Regions from separate parts of the Homo sapiens genome. Here all the other regions are linked to region 2. Evidence: promoter capture Hi-C in 16 types of primary human blood cells and fetal thymus (Javierre and others, 2016). All regions are on one chromosome and are shown on one strand. Each heading gives the region's core, a stretch centred on a gene start or on the middle of the fragment in contact. The rest is flanking DNA. Distances are from core to core; before and after follow the strand shown.

Region 1 (2,745 bases), core at 104-2,603, 140 kb after region 2:
TTCTGCAGTGAGCTATGATTGCACCACTGCACTCCAGCCTGTGTGACAGAGGTAGACCCTGTCTCAAAAGAAAAGAAACAAAACAAACAAACAAAAACATTGATAGTAGCTACTAACACCAGCTACTGCATGGTAGAGTTTGAATTTGAATCAGATCTGATCCCAAAGACTCTGCTCTTAATTTTTATGTCATTTTGTCTCACCAACCTAAACATAATCCAAACTTGTATATCATTACATTGCTTATTGATTTATATTGATTATATAAAAGATATCTTGCTGATTGAATGAGAAGAATATGAGAGACATAGGAGAAAAAAATCACATGTAATGACTACAGATTTATTCTGGAGTTAACCTGTGAGGGAGAATTATTATATTCAGTTTTTAGATAACAATGTAGAATCTCACAGAGCTTAAGTAAATGTCAGTGTTTCTCAGTCATCACATGTTGGGGCCTGAGACCGAAGCTCTGATTTCACCCACTTCACACACTGTCCTTTCCCTCTATATCATGCCAAGAATAGTAATGCTATGACTGTTTCAGATATTCTGTAGCTCAGCAGTGACAGAAACTGTGAAACTGAAATTACTTACATTATTTGATAAGCTAAACCCAAAATTCATGAGGAAGAGAATAAGTAAAACAAACAAACAAACAGAAACCCAGACGTTTATAATGGACAAATAATTGTTCACTCATATTTGTTGTCCTTCCTGGAGGTGACCCTCCCAGTGGGAATATCACATATTTTTGCTCCATTAATTCAGGAGTGGTCGAGTGATTTTCTTCAGCCAGTGAGATATGGGTAGAAGTAATGAGAGTCACTTCATAGCAAGAGCTTTAAGGGTTGGCATTTGAGTCACATTCCCTTTTTCTCCACATCTGAGATCATGGAAGAATGTGTTTAAAGGGAGCTTTCTACTGCTCCAGTCCCTACAGTATAATAATGAGCAGAGTCTACTTCCTGGCTAGTGATGGGCGCATGGCATGAGTGAGAAACAAACATAGTTGTTAAAAGCCGTTGAAAGATTTGAGTTATTGGTGACTTCAGCGTGACCTTGCTGTAGCAGATGTTGTTAGTGTTACATTCTAATCCCTTAAGTTTCCTTTCATCGTTTCTGTGTTAAGCCCTATGTACCTTTGTGGTCAGAGATAAAGAAAGGCCAAGGTTCACAGGAGAGAGCCAGTGTGGATGCGAGAAACACAAAACCAGAGAGGCGAGGTGTTAGAAAAGCAGTAATGGAGAGAAAGTGAGAGACAGAGAGACACAGGAGGCCCAGGAATGCAGACAGAAAGCTAGAAGGAATAAAAGGTAACCCAAGAGAAGCAGCAGAAGTGACAAAGAAAAGCAGAAATTGTGAGCAGAAGGAGGGAGGAAAGGCAGGCAGGACACGGGACTGAGCATGGCCAGAGGCTGAGCACAGAAGCCAGTCTAAAGCACCCCTGTGAGGCTTTCTAGATGCCCCTCTGCTGAGAACTCTCACTCAGCCACATATTTCCAGCTTTCAGCAGCAGCAGCAAAGCCATTCAATTCAGGAAGCAAGGGGAGCCAGAACAGAGAGACAATAAGATCCCTTTGGGGTGACCATCTGCTACATGTTTACAATGGCTGAAGGCAGAAAGGGAATCAAGATATTTAGATTCAAGCTCTGGAATCCAGGCAAGACCCATTGGATGCTGCTGCTCTGACAGTCCCTGAAAGATGTGTGTGGTATGTGGATTGCACTGGACTTCTAGCTCTGCTTCTTAAAATGCTGTGACTATCCTAGTGGACCACCCTTCCCTGACATGACTCACTCTTGTATGGGGGCTGACGGCACAGACCTTGGACCGTCTAGGTTTATATCCTGGCCCTGTGAATTGCCAGTTGTATGACCTTGGGCTGATACTAATCCTCTTGGAGTGGAATTTTCCCCAGATGTAAGATAAAAAATAGTAGAGCTAGCGTGAGCATCAAATTGGATTATGGCTGCCACATAGGAAGAGTTCAATAACAGCAGTTTCCGCTGTTGTTATTGGCATGGAAACTTCATTCTCATCATCTCCCCTTCTAACCCAACCGCCAACCACACTTCTTTAACGTGAAGGTGATGGGTTTGTGTGTGTGCGTGTGTGTGTGTGTGTGTGTGTGTGTGTTGATGCATCTATGTATGGGTCCAGCAGTGTGCTGGCTGCACACTTTAATTATAGTTAACTGAATGAATACCTTTAGAGATCCATAAGTAGTAAATAAAATCAGAAATGAGAGCACACAAATGAAGCCCTGAGAAGACACATGTTAGCTGTCTCTCTGGAACCACAGGTATTTCCTAGAACTGTATCCTGGCCATCAGCAATGACATCTAATCACAGAAGTGGATCTATCTCCCTAAGCAGTAAGCATGCAACCCTCTCACTAATCTTAATGCCAAGTCTAAACTCATCTTGACTAACCGAAACCGAATCCTTATAACTCATTCATTCTCCAGACCCAGCCAATGCATCTTAATTCATAAGTCCAGCATGGCGAGCTTTTCTTATTAGGTCATTTACTTCGGCGGCTTCCTGACTGTGGTACCCAGATTTTGACACGGAGACATAAGCCCCTTGGGAATGGGGCAAGCAACCCTGGCCCTGCTTTGCAAGTGACTCCACAAGTTAGAATCTGTCAGCAACTTTCATTGAGTCTGTGATGAAGAGACTTACTGTTTCTCCCTATACAGCCCAGGGCAGCAGTATCCATGACTGATGTCAGGCTGGAG
Region 2 (2,700 bases), core at 27-2,526:
TAATGGGTAGCCAGTGCTTAGAATCACTGCTTTAAACAGAGCAAGGGGAGGTAGAGGGCTCAGGTAAAGAATATGACAGTACCACTAAGATTGTACCCATGAAGCAAAAAAGAAATGATCAATTTCCTATATAAAAAGCCACATCAGGCGAAAAGGGTCAGATGAGGGTTGGAGAAGAAAAGAAGAGAGAAAAGAGAGGTCTAGGTGAGGGAATGGCAGAGCTGGTAAGGCCAGGTCCTGTGGTCTTCTTGGGTGCTGGTCACAGAGTCCACTCTTTTGGGTAAAGATGAAGTCGAAGCTGAAGCCGCTTCCAGGCTCTTCTCAGCCCAGGGTTATCTTGAATCAGTAGAATTGAGTGGCTGGCAGGGTAGGCAGCCATGATGATCTGGCACAAATTATTCCACAGACTGTTGATGTCAAACATGTTGGACAGGTAGATAAACAGAGCAACTGCATTGAAAATGTAGAGAATGAGAAAGTAGCTGATAGCTTTGATGGCCCCCATGTGAGCCTCCATGCTGGGGTCGTTGGACCCTGTGGCATTGCTTCCCATGTGTAGGGTGTGTCTCTTGAGAGAGAGGATCAGCAGGGTGGCTGTCAGGATGAACATGATCAGAGGAGTCACAATCCCCAGGTTAAAGAAAAAAGCCAGACCGACCACATTGATCTCAGACAAGTATGTTTTCTTAGTGGAGTTGGAGGAGTGGATAGGGAAAGAATTGTTACAATACACAGTGCAGATGTTGATGCAGAACATGCTGTGACTGAAGGAAATAAACACGGACAGCCACAGAAGCCAGGGTATCAATCCAGTAATTCTCCACCTCAGTTTGAGGAAAAGGGGGTAGGAGAAATTGGCAATCTTCACAAAGTAGAAGAAACTGAGCCAGGCAGCAAACCACAGGCTACAAAAATTTAAGAATATAAAACTTATTTTGAATGCATAATATACAGCGTCTTCAGAATAAAAACTTAGGGAGGTTGAGCTGATGGTAATTTCTAACATCATGAGGCTTTGGAGAGCTATTCTGGATACACTCAGGAAAACCAGGATCCTGCCACTTGTGGAAACTGCCTTATTTTGAACCCATTCAGCTGCATGTATAGCCATGATGAAACCATTTGCAATGATACCAATGAGGTATTCAGCAAGTAAAACTGCTAAAATTAAGGTGATGAGAAATGGCGACAATTCACTTTCTGCAGGATCGCAGAGTTTAGTCATTCTGAGCTGTTGCTTCTCTTTGGTGTCTGGAGGAAAACATCTCCCTAGCATTTGATGGGCAGACTCTTGATAACTCCCAGTATTGATGTCATAGGAGGAAGCAATTGATGTATCATTTCCAAATTCACTGCATTTGTTTATTTCAGAATTCTTAGCTCTACATCTAGAGATGCAAATGTTGGAAGGATTTGGTTTCTAATCCTCTCTCTATTTTTGAACATGTTGGTAGTGGTTCAATAATGAGGCCCAGGGAAGCGCTTGAGTAGACTCTTTAAAAGCAGCTAACATGGTACTGAGGTCCGTGTTCTTTGGTAGCATCAGTTAATTTGAACATTGGTTAACTGAGTCATCATTTAACTTACTTTCACTTGTGACTGCAGAAAATGATTGAAAATAAAAACTGCTACACACATACACACACACACACGCACTTCTCATTTTGTGCTAAGAAATTTTCAAATGATTTATTTATAATTACTACATTTAAACCTCACAACAACCTTATGAGCATGTGCTTCTATTACCTCCATTTTGCAGATGAAGAAACTAAGGCATACAGAGGTTAAATAACTTGGCCAACATCACACAACTAGAGCGTGATAGAACTGGGATTCAAACCCAAGTCACCTGGTCGCAGAGTTCCTCCTCTTATCCACCATGTTATGCTACCTAGACCTGTGGATTCTTTTGTGTGCCCAAGACTAAATGCAGGGTTGATTCCACTATGACATTTTTTTCCTGGTAGCCTTTTATGTCCCCACCCTCTAAAGAAAAATCAATAAAGCAAGAAGACACTGATTTTTAAGAGATAGGACTCTCTTTTCAAAGTAGATTACTTGAGAGGTAATAAATTTAATTATACATAAAAGATCATACACACACACACACACACACACATATTCACCTTTCATTTTAAGCAAAACTAGGAAAATAAGAGTTGAAGGTAAAACTCCCTAGTTCCTAGCAAGGTAAGCTAGCGAACCTGAGAATAAAAGCAATGTCCCAATTCATCCAATTTTGGAATATTAAAACAAAAAGAAAGGAAAAAAGAATCACTTTTATCTTAAGGAATTTTTTTCTGATTTTAAAACGCAAGCATAGGACACATAATGATAAAATGGACTTTTCATTTCAGGGTAAATTAATTTTTATGAATGTATGTAACTTTAAAATAATGATGAAGTAATAATTCTAATAAAGAGAAAGTTGGTGGGTGAGAAGTCTCAGAAAATCTTTATAACATTTGGTTTTTACTTAAAGCCTTTTAAAAACAAGGCAAGAACTCATAAACGTTTTCTGGCTTGATTAATGATTTTAGATGAGTTGTTACGAATTTTACCATCTCATTTGAAAATCACTATTCCTGAACAAATATTTCCCTTGAATACAGCGTAATAGACAACTGCTCCTCTCTGCTTGTTTCTACCCATTTGCACAAGTAGGCCTGGAGTATCTCAGGACCTCCAGTTTGGTTT
Region 3 (2,700 bases), core at 6-2,505, 180 kb after region 2:
TGGACCAATCTAAAATAAATAATAACACACATACCCTTTGTCTTATGTAATGACAGATCTTCAATTTAAATTTATGTACTGCATCTCTATGTAAACTAATTAAAATTTCTGGCATGTTAGCCTATGCAATTAGACAAGAGAAAAAAAATGCAGGGCCAAGATGTTAAAAAGGAGGAGAAAAAAAGATTAACATGAATTTTAAATAATTTGTTTATCTGGAAATCTCAACAAAATAAAGTAAAAAACCAATGTGGCTGGGCACAAAATTTATATTGAGAGTCAAAAGACTTCACATATAAAACACATTAAGTTAGAAAATATAATGGAAGGAAAGAACCTCATTTACAAAAGCAAAAGCAAAGAAATATAACATTATTAGGAATAAGCTTAACAAGTAAAGATTTACATTTAAACTAGATTGACATTTAAAAAAATGCTCCTGAAAGACACAAAAGTAGATTTGAGCAAATGGAAAGGTGGAGTAAACAATACAAAGATATCAATTCTCCTCTAAGTGTATCCATAAAAATGATACAATCACAATTTAAAAATCAATAGTATTTTTTAAATCTAGAGAAGCAGATTACATTTTATTCATGCATTATTTCATTCATTTATATTTTTAGAGACAGAGTCTTGCTCTGTCAGCCAGGCTGGAGTGTAGTGGCATGATCATAGCTCACTACAGACTTGAACTGCTGGACTCAAGTGATCCTCCCACCTCAGCCGCCTGAATAGCTGGGATTACACATGTGAGCCATCGTGCCCAGCTTAGATTAAACTTTTTATTATGGAAAAATAAACAAGCAAAAAATTTTCAAAAACATTCTGAAATAGAAGCATAATGAGGAATAACTACATCTGTAAAACAGACTATATAGCTATAATGTAAACAGTACTATCATTGGGAAAAAATGAATTATTCAATAAATGGTCAAACAAACTAGCAGCTACCTAAAAAACAAAAGTTAATTCCATTACTGCCTATGTCATACCAGGCTGTTTAAAATGGGTCAAATATTTAAATGTAAAAAAAAAACATAGATTTAACATAAGAAATAAAAGAATGTTTATAAAAATGGGTAAGACCTTTCTTAGGATGACTTAAAACACAGATGTCATAGAAGATTGACTTTATGAAGAATTTTTTAAAAATTTGCTATGGTTAATACTACCCCAAGGTAAACAGACACACGAAAACACCAGAAAACAATTTCAACTCATATCACAAAAGGTTAGTTTGCATCATGTGTAAAAAGCTCCTATAAGAAAAAAATAAAACTACTCAGCAGAAAAATGGGCAAAAGATAAGCACATGTGAGAATATTTTCATCTTCATTCATAAGGAGAACAATAAAAATTAAAGCCATATTAAGATACTATTTTCAGTTATTAAACTGGCAAATGTCAAAAAGTTTTATAGTACACTGCGTGAAAATAGGTAGTGTAAAATGTAATAGCCTGCATGAAGGGCAATTATGTAATATATATTAAAGTGACAAATGCTTTTACGCTTTGGCCTAGCAATTCCTCTTCTAGAAATTGTCATTTAGATATTGTGTACAGGGAAATAATGTATGTATTCCATTTGGTGGAATAATCTGGAGTTATTAAAAAAGGAAACAAGAACCAAGAATGTCTTATGTATAAATATACAATGATCTGTACTGCATAGGACATATGTTCGATATACTACCATTTGTACAAAAAGAAAATGTGCTTGTATGCATTTGCTTATGCAGACGTATATGCTTAAAATTACCTCTGTAAAGACACAGAAGAAAGTGATAACATTGGTTGCCTTGAGGGAGGAGGATCAGATAGAAAAGTGTTTCAAAGTATCCTTTAAAATTTTGAACCATGGAAGTATATTATGCTTTGATGCTTTAATATTTGAATATAGTTATATCTTCTTTTGATATTCTGGCACTTTTAAAAACATCTGTATTTGGGGTACTATATGATCCTGATTCTCTAAGTGTTATAATTAACATATATATCTTATTAATCCAAAACTCAACTATGTAGTCTTTCTAGAACATAGCTAGGAATCAGAAAATAGCAAAATAAACCAGCAAGCAGACAAAATAAATGTTACAAAGTCCATGAACCACATAAAGCTTAGCCACTTTACTCACAGGAAGTCTGTTAGAGTCCCTTTTATCTGTTTGTTTATTTATTGGAAATAAGCTTGATAAAATGATTTACTCATAGAAAGGAGATAAGAAAAGACAGGTCTACTGAAAACAACAAGCAGTGTGTTAGCTCTCAATCAAGAGACATGTTGAGAGAAATTAAAAACCAACTGTACAAAGCTGACCAAAGGACTTAAGACATTTTTGTTCATTTAGTGCAGGAGCAAACCTTCTCTGAGATCATGTATATATGACAGTGGCATCCTAATGATCGTCTTGAGAAACCAAGAAGACATTCAGGTATGCTCAATAGAATCTATTAAGACTGATTTTCATGCCTAACATTTAAATAAAATATAAAAACTTTTGATGATTAAGTCTAAAACTTAGAGTCTCTGGAAAATGGAATAACACATTTCAGGTTGGTGGTGTTTTGGAGTATATTTTTAAATGCTTAACTGAAGATATCACCAAATGCCAGAGTAATTGGTCAGAGATTTCTTTTTCTATTGAACACAAATGAAAACATCAGTATCAAAAATTGGCAGTAGATATGCAAAAAGGG
Region 4 (2,700 bases), core at 72-2,571, 200 kb after region 2:
GGCAGCAAGCCAGCTGATGTGGAGCCTGAGGGTTTGATGTGGGAGTGTCTGCAGTGGTGCACCTCCAGGGATGGCCATCCCCCAGGCCTGACTTGCTCCCATAGGAGACTTTAACCCTAGGGGAACTGTCGGACCTGATCTTTCAGGATGGTCTTGCCCATCAGACCAGGCTGGTCCAACCTGAACACCCCTTGGTCTACTGGCCTCTCCTAGGGCCCTAGCCAGGCCACACCTTCTTGCAGGGCAATCTCCAGTGCCCTGGGGGCCCACCACAATAGCTTCTGTGCTGGTGGACTGTGCCTCATCAGTGGACAGCTCCAGCTGGGTGGCTCCATGGCCACACACAAGCCTACCATTCCCTCCCATACTGAAGCTTCCTCCAGGCACATAGCAACTCCCCACATCACTTTGCTGGCACATGCCAACATGAGTGGAAGGGGTTTGTTTTCTTTGCCCTGTCAGTGGAGGGGAGAGCAGTCTGCTCTACTTCCCTTTGCAGGCTGCCATTGCAGATGGAACCTTGGTGGGCACAGAGTCAGAAGCCCCACCCCTGCCAGTGCCTGGCCCCGAACTAACACTGTGCAGAGAACAGCACATCCTCCTCCACCCTGAACAATCACTCCTGCTTGTGGGGCATAGAGAAGGCACCCTGCACCAGCCAACACCCCACACCAGACCCAACACTACCTCCAGTGCAACTATACACAGTGTCCAGCAGGGTGCCTCACCCCACTGTCCCCCACCCCAGCTGCATTGCCTCTGTCACTGTGGTGAACAACTGCAAGGAGGCAGGCACTTGGCACCCACTAGCACTCTGCCACAGCTGCTGCACCTCACTGCACTACCCCCACCACCAGCACACTGCATGCCATGCCTCAAAGAGCCAGAGAACAAAACTGGGGCCTAATGCAAGTCCTCCAGTTAGAGAACACAGTATAGGAGTTGGAGCTAAGCATTGGCTTCCTAAAATCCTTCAGAAATGAAGCTAGTTCACTGAACCCACCTTATACCACAATCAGACCCTCAAGGTCATCAAATAGGTTTTAAAAAAAAAAAAATCCAAAGGTCAACAACCTCAAAGATTGAAGGTAGATAAGCCCACAAAGATGAGAAAAAAAACCTGATGGAAGAACACTCAAAACTTGAATAAAAATAAAAGAAAAACTGCAGTCCCTTCTTTCCTCCAAATGACCACATCACCTCTCCAGCAAGCATTCTGAACTGGGCTGCCATGGATGAAATGACAGAAATAGAATTCAGAATATGGATAGAAATGAAGATCATTGAGATACAAGAATATGTTGAAACCCAATTCAAGGAAGCTGAAAACCATGATAAAACAATGCAGGAGCTGACAGACAAAATAGCCAGTATAGAAAAGAATATAACTAAGCTGATAGAGCTGAAAAACACACTATGAGAATTTCATAATGTAATCACAAGTATTAGTAGAAGAATAGACCATGTGGAAGAAAGAATCTCAGAACTTGAAGACTGGCTTTCTGAAATAAGATAGTCAGACAAAAATGGAGAAAAAAGAATGAAAAGGAATGAACAAAACCTCTGAGAAATATAAGATTACGTAAAGAGATTGAGTAACTCATCATTGTCCCTGAAAGACACTGGGGAGAATGGAACCAACTTAGACAATGTATTTCAGGATATAATCCTTGAGAACTTCTCCAACCTAGCTAGAGAGGCCAACATTCAAATTCAGGAAATGCAGAAAACTCCAGTAAGATGCTACTCAAGAAGAACATCCCCAAGACGTGTAATCATCAGATTCTCCAAGGTCAAAATGTTAAAGGCAGCTATAGAGAAAGGTCAGGTCACCTACAAAGTGAATCCCATCAGACTAACAGTGGACCTCTTGGCTGGGTGCGGTGGCTCATGCCTGTAATCCCAGCACTTTGGGAGGCCAAGGCAGGTGGATTACCTGAGGTCCGGAGTTCAAGAGCAGCCTGGCCAACATGGCAAAACCCCATCTCTACTAAAAATATAAAATTTAGCTGGGCATGGTGGTGTGCACCTGTAATCCTAGCTACCCAAGAGGCTGAGGCAGGAGAATCACTGGAACCTGGGGGGGCAGAGGCTGCAGTGAGCCGAGATTGCACCACTGCACTCCAGCCTGGGCAACAGAGCAAGACTCCATCTCAAAAACAAAACAAAACAAAACAGTGAACCTCTCAGCAGAAACTTTACAAGCCAGAGGAGATTGGGGGCAAGAAATTCCAAACCAGAATGTCATATCTGGCTAAACTAAGCTTCATAAGCAGAGAAATAAGATCCTTTCCAGACAAGCAAATGCTGAGGGAATTTGTTACCAACAGATGTGACTTACAAGAGCTCCTGAAGGAAGCACTAAATATGGAAAGGAAAGACTGTTGCCAGCCCCTACAAAACACAATGAAGTACACAGACCAGTGACACTATAAAGCAACCACATAAACAAGTCAGCAAAATAATCAACTAACATCATGATGGAAGGATCAAATTCATACATATCAACATTAACCTTAAAAGTAAATGGGCTAAATACCCTAATTAAAAGACTGGAAGCTGGATAAAAGAACTATGACCCATTGGTATGCTGTCTTCAAGAGACCCATTTTACATGCAATGACATACATAGGCTCAAAATAAAGGGATGGAGAAAAGTCTACCAAGACAATGGAAAACAGAAAAAAACAGGGATTGCAA
Region 5 (2,700 bases), core at 108-2,607, 230 kb after region 2:
TGAGACATCAATCAAATACATTTAAGAAATACATTGGTTTGGTCCAGAAAGGTGGAACAACTCAAAGGGGTGGGGGTGGCTTCCAGGGTACAGGTGAATTTAAACATTTCCGGATTGACAGTTGCTTGAGTTTGTCTAAAGATCTGGGATAGATAGAAAGGGAATGTTCAGGGTAAGATAAAGATTGCGGAGACCGAAGTTCTTTTGAAGTCTTATAGTGGCTGCCCTTAGAGACAATAGGTGACAAATGTTTCCTATTCAGATCTTAGTTAATCAAAAGATCTAGCTATGTTAATGAGATATGTTAATAGCTAATAGAGATGCTTTACAGATGCAAATTTTCCTCCACAAAGAACAGCTTTGCAGGGCCATTTCAAAATGTGGCAAAGAAACATGTTTTGGGGTAAAATATTTTTGTTTTCTTCTTTGTCTCGTAATGTTATGCCAGAATCAGGTTAGAAAGTAAATCATGTTACATGGGTTAAATAAAACCCATCTGATGAGAACTTATGATATAGGGCATGACTCCCCAGACCCCTTTGATAGGAATTTGGGGCAAGATAAAAAAAATCAGAGTTTAGTCCTCACTCCCATGCTTCCTTTCTAGAGGTCCAGAATTCCTGGCACCCAGGCTCTGGGGAGGAGAAAGCCTTCCAGTTCTACAACTCCTGCATGGATACACTTGCCATTGAAGCTGCAGGGACTGGTCCCCTCAGACAAGTTATTGAGGAGGTGAGAAAAGTTGGGATATTAACTTTTCTGGATACATAACATATGGGACCAATGCATGCTTAGGGCTGCCATTTTTTTTTCTAGAGGGTGGGTCTTCTTCCTAGGGCCCCCCAATTTCTAGGAGGGAGATGGAGATGGAAATGGTTATGCCCTATGAAAGTATCAGGACCTTGGGAGAAGGCAGATAAAAAAGGATAGATGTGGCTTCCTAGAGGAATCGAAGGGCGCAGGGCAGAGGTCAGGCAGTAGCAGCTGTGTAAGAGCCGATCCAGACAATGGGGGATGGGCTCCACGGATCCTTATGCTCAGCCCCCTCTCTCTCCTTTAAAGCTTGGAGGCTGGCGCATCTCTGGTAAATGGACTTCCTTAAACTTTAACCGAACGCTGAGACTTCTGATGAGTCAGTATGGCCATTTCCCTTTCTTCAGAGCCTACCTAGGACCTCATCCTGCCTCTCCACACACACCAGTCATCCAGGTGAGGGATGCACTGGCGAAGACACAGTTGGACCTGGCCTGCCTCCAACTCTAGCCAATCATCCCTTAGAGGAAGGTTGCAGGTTGGGAAGAGAGGACACCTGTGTGATATAGGAAACAACCCTACCTTAAGGGAAAATTATTGATGTGAAAGTCAGGGACATTAGCTGGGGGTGGGAAATGGAGCAGCAGAGCCAGTGCTGGGAAGACAGAAGTAGGCCTGGTCTTTCTTACTGTTAATCTGGATTAGTCTCAGAGCCCCTTAACCAGTCCTCCTATCTCTAGGATTGCCCTCATTTTATTTACTCTTTATTTTTACTAGAGGGAACTTTTCTAAACCAAGGGCTAACTAACTATGCTACTGTCTGTATTTAAATGCTTGTCAGTGACCCAGTGGCTTGCCAGGTCATCAGAATCTAGTCCCTAATCTTTAGTAAAGCTTTGCAAGCACCTTGTGATCTGACCCCTACACACTTCTCCAGCCTTATCTCCCGTACATTCCTTCTCTCCCTTACCCCCAAGCCATGCTGACTCACTGCTGCTTCCAGGAATATTCCTCAGTTCTTTGCCTATGCTGCTCCCTGTGCCTGCAACCATCCCCCACACTGAACCTGGAAAACTTACATGTTTTTCAAATGTTGGCTTTATTATCTCTTCCAGGAAGTCTTCACCGACACCCTAGTTATGAGTTAGGTGAAGCCCTGCTCTCCCTACTTTCGTTTCCTCATGCTCTCAGCATTTATCACTCTGTGTTGAAGATTGTGAGCCTCTTTAGAACAGGACCATGCTTTATTCACCTTTGTTTCTCAGGACCTATCACAGGGCCAGGCAGCTAGAAGTTTTGCCAGGTATTTGTAGTGAGTGAGTAACTAAATAAAAACACTGGAGCTATCACTCTTGTGGTTAAACAATGTAATGCTATCTGCATATTTGGGCCCTACTGTCAAAAGAGCCACAAAATTACCAAAGGATAAGTACAAAAGAAGAATTGATTATCATTATGAGGTGTTCTAAAATTTAGTTTTAAACAGTCTGCTCAGGAGTTTAACTGATGTGGCCTTTAGGGGCCGGTTAAGATCTGGTTAAGGAGAGGCTCAGAGAGGAGAGAATGAGAGAAGGTGAGCTAAGCCAGCCTTGAAACATGGTTAATTCACACAAGTGGAGGTGAAGCTATGGGGCGTTGGAAATGCTGAGCCAGGGGGAGGACCTGGAATGGTGTGATTCCTTCGTGGAGTCAGTGAGGAGGCTGATCTATTTAATTGAGGATTTGGGAGGCAAGGTGGGGTGCAGTGGGAGGTAAAAGTGAGACTGAAGACATAAGGTTGAGCCTGATTATTTCTAAGAAGCCAGGCGAAGGTGAAACATTTGACATAATAGAAAAAAAAAAAAGAGCTACTGAGGCCATCCAACTCTTATGACAATTGTGCATAGAGCAAGTATTTTGATGGTTGTGCGTAGAGTCAGCAGTTTTGAAGGTCAGTCTGGGGGTGTT

What was found. The method cuts DNA at HindIII sites, captures the fragments that hold promoters and counts their contacts. A CHiCAGO score of 5 or more calls a contact.
Region 1: a fragment that was not itself captured here is called in contact with the fragment with the promoter of TAS2R39 in region 2 in 4 of 17 cell types (naive B cells, neutrophils, total B cells and 1 more); the score reaches 6.5 in naive B cells.
Region 3: a fragment that was not itself captured here is called in contact with the fragment with the promoter of TAS2R39 in region 2 in 7 of 17 cell types (total B cells, naive B cells, M2 macrophages and 4 more); the score reaches 10.4 in total B cells.
Region 4: a fragment that was not itself captured here is called in contact with the fragment with the promoter of TAS2R39 in region 2 in 2 of 17 cell types (monocytes and neutrophils); the score reaches 5.5 in monocytes.
Region 5: a fragment that was not itself captured here is called in contact with the fragment with the promoter of TAS2R39 in region 2 in 1 of 17 cell types (monocytes); the score reaches 5.1 in monocytes.

Annotation. Positions count from the first base shown.
Region 1 is chr7:143,041,350-143,044,094 of GRCh38, reverse strand. No RefSeq gene overlaps it. Among named protein-coding and RNA genes, the nearest start is that of OR6V1, 9.6 kb to the left of the region's middle. The HindIII fragment of the contact is 4,130 bases long and covers 1-2,745 here.
Region 2 is chr7:143,181,995-143,184,694 of GRCh38, reverse strand. It overlaps TAS2R39 (taste 2 receptor member 39), which reads right to left and starts at 1,276. Exons shown (of 1, transcript NM_176881.2): 1 at 260-1,276. The coding sequence starts at 1,276. The coding sequence ends at 260. The HindIII fragment of the contact is 8,536 bases long and covers 1-2,700 here.
Region 3 is chr7:142,999,432-143,002,131 of GRCh38, reverse strand. No RefSeq gene overlaps it. Among named protein-coding and RNA genes, the nearest start is that of OR9A2, 26 kb to the left of the region's middle. The HindIII fragment of the contact is 1,734 bases long and covers 389-2,122 here.
Region 4 is chr7:142,982,054-142,984,753 of GRCh38, reverse strand. No RefSeq gene overlaps it. Among named protein-coding and RNA genes, the nearest start is that of KEL, 21 kb to the right of the region's middle. The HindIII fragment of the contact is 1,891 bases long and covers 376-2,266 here.
Region 5 is chr7:142,956,336-142,959,035 of GRCh38, reverse strand. KEL (Kell metallo-endopeptidase (Kell blood group)) reads left to right here. Exons shown (of 19, transcript NM_000420.3): 5 at 608-732; 6 at 1,063-1,209. Among named protein-coding and RNA genes, the nearest start is that of KEL, 4.7 kb to the left of the region's middle. RefSeq lists an enhancer at 543-1,258. The HindIII fragment of the contact is 585 bases long and covers 1,065-1,649 here.